Linked DNA regions of Homo sapiens: region 1 is linked to region 2. The links are contacts of gene promoters, found by promoter capture Hi-C in human tissues and cell types (Jung and others, 2019). All regions are on one chromosome and are shown on one strand. The core of a region is centred on a gene start or on the middle of the fragment in contact, and the rest is flanking DNA. Distances in the headings are between cores, read along the strand shown.

Region 1 (4,363 bases), core at 142-2,641, 170 kb after region 2:
TTCTTTCCCTGGTTTGTCAGTAGCCTCAGGTCTCCACCTGAGCTAAGAATCCAGACCAAGTGACAGGTGTACCCAGTCAACACTGTATACATTGGCTAGGTTTGGAGGCACAGTGGGGATGTGGGAGAAGAAGGGAGAAGTTGGGGGAAGGTGGGGGTGGAGCACATTTTACTTTCTTTCCTAGGTCACTAGGCAGCAGTAGAAGAACAAAGAAAATTTTGAGGTCTTTGTAAGTAAAAGATTTTGTTAGAAGATTGGATCTGAAAATTTTTATAATTTGAATAATAATATAATACAATATTATTTTGTGCCCTCAACTGGTAAAGAAGGATTGATGACACTGGAACTGAGTTTTATGGAATTATTCCTCACTTGGCCTTTCTTGTTTGGATAGAAATTTTCTATGGAGCTGGTATACTCCTAGCTAGAGCAGAGGAAGCGCTGTTGCCCCTCTCAGAAAACTTAAACGGAAAATTGGTTAAGAACTAGATGGAGGAAGCTTAGGTATATGGGTTAGGCCTCTTTGTCTTGGAAATATTTCACTTCCTAGATATGGTTCTCTATTTATTCATTTTTCTTTGCCTCCTGACATCTCAATAGTATGTTAAGAGCATAGACTGTAGAGCCAGACTATCTGGATTACAATTCCAGTTCCCCACTTGCGAGTTGTGTGATATTGGGTAAAAGGCTTAAGCTTTCATTGCTTCACTTTTTGTATTCTCAAAATGGGGAAAATAAAGATACCTACCTCGTAAGCTTTTTGTGCGAATTATGTGCAAGTCAGGTACATAGTCAGCACTAAGTAAACATCTGTTAATAAATAAACGATTGCTATTTAAAGCGCTGATCCATTAACTTTGTACCAAACTTTGTAGAAAAATCTACAAAGCTATTTTGAAATCCATGATACTTGGGTTCAATCCCAAAACTGCTGAGTTAGAATCCCTGGCTAAAAACAGATATTCTAAATGCTCCTCATGCAATTCTGTGATATACCAAGTCTCATAACAACCCTACAAAGTCAATATTAATCTTGTTTCATAGAAGACACTGAGACTCATAAAATTTACTCATTTTTCCAAGAGTACACATCAAATGAGAGAGGAGAGTATTAGGATCTAAGAATTTCTGATTCAGAATTTCTTACTTCTTCCAACTTATCATATAAAACCAGATGAAACCATGGAGAGAGGGGTTCACAGAATGAAAGGAGCAAGTATAAAAGAGAGGTGGGCACAAGAGAAAGAGGCAGAAAGGGGGACAAGATGAAGTGTGGCTGGATAATATGATACAGAGCTGATAAACAAGGAGGATTTTCCTTTCAAGTAACAGAAGAAATTGGTGGTGATGGAAATGGAGCAGTTCAAAGTGACATTGACAAAAACAAATATCTTCTCCTTCAATATTTTGCCTCAAGCTCACCCTGATGCTCTCGGTTAATAATTCTTTAGCCTTATGTTCTCACTCATAGGTGGGAATTGAACAATGAGAACACATGGACACAGGAAGGGGAACATCACACACCAGGGACTGTTCTGGGGTAGGGGGAGGGGGGAGGGATAGCATTAGGAGATACACCTAATGCTAAATGACGAGTTAATGGGTGCAGCACACCAACATGGCACATGTATACATATGTAACAAACATGCACGTTGTGCACATGTACCCTAAAACTTAAAGTATAATAATAATAAAATTAAAAATAATAATAATTCTTCAGCCTTGTGCTCATGCATTAGTATTACTTATAAGTGTGATTACCTGATGGCTTCTTTTCCTTGGAATTCAGGAGCTACTGGTTCAAAATAATCATCAGAGGGATGCTCAGCATCGATTTCTTTCTCAATAACCTTAGCATTAGTCCTTTGGTGTTGGAAACAAGATGATGAATTCAAGAAAAATAAAGGAGAATAATGGCGCTCATCTCCATCTAATTAACCAAGAGGCAACAAAATATGATCAGTAATAGTAAAAGAATGCGCAAAGAAGCCTTGCTAACAACAATGCAGAATGCCTTGAAGTTTTAAGCATCATAGAGACATTTTTTCTTCTAAAACTCAATTTATTATTAAGAAGAAAACTTGATGATGAAGTAAACAATGGGAATTCAAAGGAAATAACATATTGCAAAATTAAACAATATAATACAGCTTTCAACAAAGTATAAATAGAATGTGATCAAAAAAAAGAAAGTCAATAGGAAAGTGAGGTTCGAATAAAATATTAGGTGTATGACCAGCTGAGTTGGACTCCAGCTTTTCCCTGATCAAGACATTAGTACAGATCTTAGAGCCTCTGTTGTCTACATCTGTAGAAAAGGACACCCAACAAGGAAACCATTATATGTCCTTTTTTTCCAGTCTTAACAATGGGTTGCATTATCCTTAATAGGCTCATGAAAAACAGATTTGTATCACCCAATAAACATATTTATTAAATTTTTTTAAAATGTGATCTAAAAGGTATTTAGGAGAATGAATGAAACCAAATATTTGGGAAGACACAAAGCCTTAATACAGTGCATAAAAATAATTGTAGACATGTTTGTCAACTTAAATAATTTGACCACAGCAACATAATTGAACATAATATTGAAATCTATATATTCCTGCTTAGGCATGAATACATGGAGAAACTGTATTTGTTTAGAATAAATTTATAGTGATATTTTAAATATATTTTTCCAGTTTAAAAAACAAAGTTGAATTTATTATTAAGGGCCTTCACATATCAACCAGAAGTCACAGAAAGACAGGAATATATACAAGTAAATACATAGAAAACCTATAAGACAACCTTAAATAGTGGAAGGAACATATAAAATAAGAGGATAAACAAGAAGATTGTGCCAGAAAAAAAGCTTTCTGATTCTAGAATGTGTGAAAAAATTCTGGGCTTACGTGACATTTTTGGTTGTTTGCAAGATAATTTAACTGGGCGATCAATATACTTCTGTAAATATGAACAATATATAAAACATTTTGAGAATGATGCTGAACAAATATTCATGAGAAAGCTCTTCCACAGTATAATGGCCTCCCGAGAGCCAAACCACCATAAGAACTAATTTCTTTTATCTTGTTTTGACATAAATCCTAATATGACCCTTTCAAAACACTTTCAGGGATCCATGAAAACCTAACATTATTTAATTACCACACAATTACAAGATGTATTATAATTATTGTTGTCATATAATTATAATATATTGCTATAGTAAAGTCATAAGAAGAATTGTTTTTACATAAAAATTTCATTAGACCATTAGAACTATGAAGTAGAAATAATGAACTTATTAGTTTGAAATGGGAAATATTTAATATTCATTTTAAAAGTCTATATAATCTTAAAAAATATATTCAATGTAATTAATAACTGTAGAGGACAGAGAAAAACTCACTATTACTTACAGGGTAAAATTTTGTCAAAGTATAATGCCAATAGCAAGTAGATGAGACCATCCAAAAGCAACATAGAAAAAGTTGCTATCATTGTATATGAGTCTCCTGAAGGGTCAGGAAAAATTACACCATTCAAGTTATAATCCAGTTTGATAATCTAAGATTCAAAAAATAAAAATAAATGTTTAAAATAAATAAATAAATAGCTTGGCATAGCAGGAAAAAGTATTAATTTATTAACTAGCTTTTTCAAGAGGCACTTAGTAGTTACTAGTCAAATATATAAATAAGTAAATAAAGGTATTGGTCAAAATATTTCTATTTTACAATGAAAAATAATTAGAAAGAAATATTTATTTAATAAATACAATGTTCTAAGTATAATAATTTAAATTATAATTCATTTGTTTGTTTTCAGAAAATCATTGCAGTATTACAAATATCTATTCTGGGCAACAAAGGAGATATAAATTTTGGAAAGAATATAAGAAATTCTTGGACGCCTTTAATTAGATAAAAAGAGAACTTACCTCCTTTTCTAGTTATTATTTCAAATAAAAGTTTGTATTTAGAATTTTGCCACATAATAACAGCGACTATGTTCTAGGCACTGTCCTAAGTGTTTTGTATATTATCCCATTTAATCTTCCTTAAAACCCTATCAGATAAGCAATAAGGCTTATAAAAATAATAAGATTTTAATCTGCACTTTACATATGATAAAACTAAGGCACAGCGAAGTTGAGTAGCCAAAAGTGGCGAAGTGAAATTAGAACAAAGAAAGTCTTACTCTTAGGGCCAGTTCCTTACCCTGCACACTCTACAGCTTCTCAGTCTATGTTAAAATGTTAACATTTTCATGATAAAGTTGAATTTATTCTAGGAATCCAAAATTGAGTCAACATTTGAAAATCAATCAATGTAATTCAACATCAAACATTAAATAGGAAAATAATGTGAT
Region 2 (4,170 bases), core at 1,282-3,781:
TCAATCTTGAGCAAAGAACATGATGTGATTGTTTCTGGGTATGTCTGTATATGGGGGGTGATTTTGTAGGGGAATTTATACATACAGTTTATTGCAGCAGGCACATAAAATACTTCCCAGAAGAAGATAATTCAGTGCATAATAAGAGCACCACATCTTTCCAGAACTTCAATCAACCACTGCTACACAAATAGGATTTGCTAAGCCACTCCTGAAAACTGTAGGACTAGAGTGCTTTCAAATGGTCTTTGCCGTGGGAGAAAACAGGCTACCTAAGCTGAATTATAGAAAGTAAAGAGATTCTGGAAGGTACCATCATCAGTTTTCTGGGAAGCATGTGAAGGACATGACTTGGAAGAATGGGTCCAGACTTTTGAGCACAAAGCCAGCAGCTCCACCCTGAAGACCATCATTTGGCTCATAAGTCCTGACTTCTGAAGCAAGTGATCTCCCTCCGTATGCATGCCATGTTGGCCATGCAGTTTCTATGAACTCCTCCATAGTGATGAGAAGTGAATGAGCCCCAACTGAAGCCATCATCTCATTTATGGGACAGGATCACACACAGGGTGGTGCTACTTTCTAGAGCCAAATCTCAAGTAAGGTGTCCAGGGGTCAGTTGCAACAGAAGGCACATTAGCCACAGCAGTCTCAGAGAACACTGCTAGAAGAAGAACCTACACATGGCCATGCAATGAGGCTGAGGGGCAGGCCTAAGTGGAAGCAGACCAAGTAAAGAGGTCAGAGAGCCCATGGAAGGAGAAGAGGGAAAGACAGTTCCAAGAGTAAAGCAGCCTAGGTTAAGGTGCAGAAAATTCAGCATGGATACTTTTAAGAGAGCTGTGCAAGGCTCTCCTTACCTAAAATCACACTCCGTATACAGACATACCCACAAACAATCACATCATGTTCTTTGCTCAAGATTGAACTTGCTGAAACTGTGATGTGCTACTACTCCTACCGGGGGTAGAGGGTAGTCTGCTGCTGTACTTCTCCTCTCTGGTTACTGATGCAATTATCTATAGAAGTATAATGCCGCTCTCTGTAAGCAATTTTAGGTAAAATCCATGGGATATTTTCACAGTGAGCTAGCCTACAGAGAGGGCAAAAGTTTCTGGGTTCTTAAAGCAGCTGCCGCCAATGCAAGCTCTGTACAGGAGGAATTTCTTTTTTTTTTTTCGTTTTATTATTATACTTTAAGTTTTAGGGTACATGTACACATTGTGCAGGTTAGTTACATATGTATACATGTGCCACGCTGGTGCGCTGCACCCACTAACTCGTCATCTAGCATTAGGTATATCTCCCAATGCTATCCCTCCCCCCTCCCCCCACCCCACAACAGTCCCCAGAGTGTGATGTTTCCCTACACTCCACCTCATGCACAAGCCCAAATATATCACAGCTTCTCTACAGAAATGCATAATTCACTGGCGAAGTTAATAGACATTGGCCAAGAGGATGATCTCCTCACTATGGAATCAGCTACAGTCTTAGGTAGCATGCAAACTCCAGTCTGACTCCAATCCCTTATATCTTCCATCGTAAAGTATTATTGCCAACTTTGTTTCTTTCCAATTTTTGTATGTTCTGCAGTTTATGTAAAGGCTAGCAAAAACATGAATACTTTATTATACATATGGCAAATAGTCTCAAATTGTAATGACTCATTTTTATCCTCTTATACTGTTGTAAAATTCAGAACAACATGTATTCACTATAGGAGTATGAAAATTCTTTTTACCAATGTACATTTTAAATAACATTGTGGTAAAGAGAAGCTACATATTTCACATTCTGATTCAACTCACTGTATCCAACGAGTAAAAGATCCTAGAAAGAATCTTACATTTCTAAAATTCTTATAGACTAAGAGTGAGCGATAGGAACAATAAAAATATTTCTGTAAGTGCTCTTGGTAAACAGTCTTAAAGTCAGAAGAACACTTATCCAAAATGCCCTACATTATTGTGCAATCAAAGTAGATAACTTTAACTTCAAAAACAACTCAGTCTTCCAACCCAATTCTTAAAACTCTAAGCTCTTCACAAAAAATTTTTAGCCAATTTAAACTTATTTCTACACTCAGTTATGTTTAAAACAACATAATGTTTGCATAATTTTTTAAAAAACATTCTAACTCAATGTTTTTATTTATCTAATATTAATTACCAGATATAAAATCTTTAAAGTAGCCCAATATTTTTCAAAATAATTTCTGCATAGATGATTGTCATTCAGTTTATAAAGGTTTATTTATAATTTTGTGATAGGAATAAGAAAAGACAAAACCTCTGAAACAAACTCACACACAAAAGCAAAATACAAAACAAAACAGAAAAAATACAGTGAACTTACTTCTGGGAAAATGGAAGCAAGGAATCTAGAGGTATGGTTTATCCACTGAGCTCCTTGTTTAGAAGAAAGTTATTCATATTTTCTCCTGGTCTCTACCATGTATCTAGAATTTGCTTTAACTATTTGACTTCTGTGAAAAGTTTCTGTGAAGACTGCTTTCAGAGTGGAGGTTATGATCTCAATTCTGTTGGCCCTGCCAAACATCACATTCACGTCATCATGCTTGGACTGTTTGTCTTCTCATTGATATTCGGCCAGTTCCTGCAGAGCAGTGGCATTTATACTGGGTTGCCTGGCTATATCATATTATAGGGAGCAATTTCTCTTTTACGTCCAAGATTATTGTGGCTAATACCAAAATTTAAAGTGCTGTCTTTAAGCCATGAGAAAGTAAACAGCTTAATCAGAGAAAAGCTCTTCTCTCTACCCAGAGCTCTAGTCTGCTTAATTGACAGCTTTACCTAGATAATCAAAATTTTCATTCCTCTGCTTCCCAGCTTCATTTTCACTCAGTTCAGACTATTTTCCAATTTATTTGACCCACGGATTAATCAGAAATGTGCTTAATTTCCAAGTGTCTGAAGATTTTCTTATCTTTTGGTTATTGATTTAATTTTAAATCAGAAGTTCAATTATACTCAGAAAAAATATTTTGTATGTCAAATTTGTTAAGGCTTATTTGATGACCCAGGATATGATCTATCTTGGCAGATATTCCATAGGCACTTGAAAAGTTGTATAGTTTTTTGGTGTTGAGTGGAATATTATATAATATCTATTACATTTAGTTGGTTGATGATATTGTTCAGTTTTTTCTATATTTTTCCTAATTTTCTGTCTCCTAGTTCTGTTGATTACTAAGAGAGGAATGTTGAAGATTTTAACAAAACTTAGGGACTTTCAAATTTCTCCCTTTAAAACTATCATGTTTTGCCTGATGTATTTTGCAACATTTGGAATTGTTATGTCTTCTTGGTGAATTGACCCTTTTATCATTATGTAATGTTAATCTTTATCTCTAGTAACTTTTGTGTTCTAAAGTCTACTTTGTTTCATATTAATAATATAGCCATTCTTACTTTCCTGTGATTATTGTTTTCGTGGTATTTTGTTTTCATCCGTTTATTTTTATCTACACACACACACACACACACACACACTATATGCTTTCAGAGTGGCAGTTATGATCTCAATTCTGTTGGCCCTGCCAAACATCACATTCATATTATATGTGTATGCGTGTGTGTGTATGTGTGTGTGTGCGTCTGTGTTTGTTATTATTTTTTTAAGATGATGGTCTTGCTATGTTGCCAAGGCTGGACTTGAACTCCTGGGTTCAAGTGATCTTCCCATCTCAGACTCCTGAGTAGCTGAAACTACAGATACATGCCACTATACCCAGCTCTAAATTGTATTTCAAGTGAGTTTCTTGTAGATGGCATATAATAGAGTCATGAGTTTGGTTTTTAAAATCCAATTTGACAATGCACATCTTTTAATGGGTGTGTTTAAATTATTTTCATTTTATGTAGCTATTGATTTTTAAAATCAGATCTGCCATTTTGTTATTTGCTTCTTTTCTCTCTGGTTTTAATTCTCCTATTTCCCATTTTCTGCTTTCTTGTTGGTTATTTGAAATTATTTTTTGGTATTGCATTTCAACGTATCTATTATGTTTCTTAACTGTATCTATTTGTATAGTTATTTTAGTGGTCACTCTCAGGATTACAAAAGACATACTTAACTTGACATGCTTTACCCAGAATTAATATTTCTTCATTTTAAGTGAAATATATAAACCTTACTATGATA

The links. The method cuts DNA at HindIII sites, captures the fragments that hold promoters and counts their contacts. A contact is called where the count stands out against the background at its distance.
Region 1: a fragment that was not itself captured here is called in contact with the fragment with the promoter of ABCA8 in region 2 in 2 of the 25 tissues and cell types used here (H1 embryonic stem cells and adrenal gland).

What each region holds. Positions count from the first base shown.
Region 1 is chr17:69,121,477-69,125,839 of GRCh38, forward strand. ABCA6 (ATP binding cassette subfamily A member 6) reads right to left here. Exons shown (of 39, transcript NM_080284.3): 9 at 3,412-3,559; 10 at 1,763-1,931. Among named protein-coding and RNA genes, the nearest start is that of ABCA6, 18 kb to the right of the region's middle. The HindIII fragment of the contact is 4,600 bases long and covers 1-3,691 here.
Region 2 is chr17:68,952,861-68,957,030 of GRCh38, forward strand. It overlaps ABCA8 (ATP binding cassette subfamily A member 8), which reads right to left and starts at 2,532. Exons shown (of 40, transcript NM_001288985.2): 1 at 2,359-2,532. The HindIII fragment of the contact is 19,891 bases long and covers 1-4,170 here.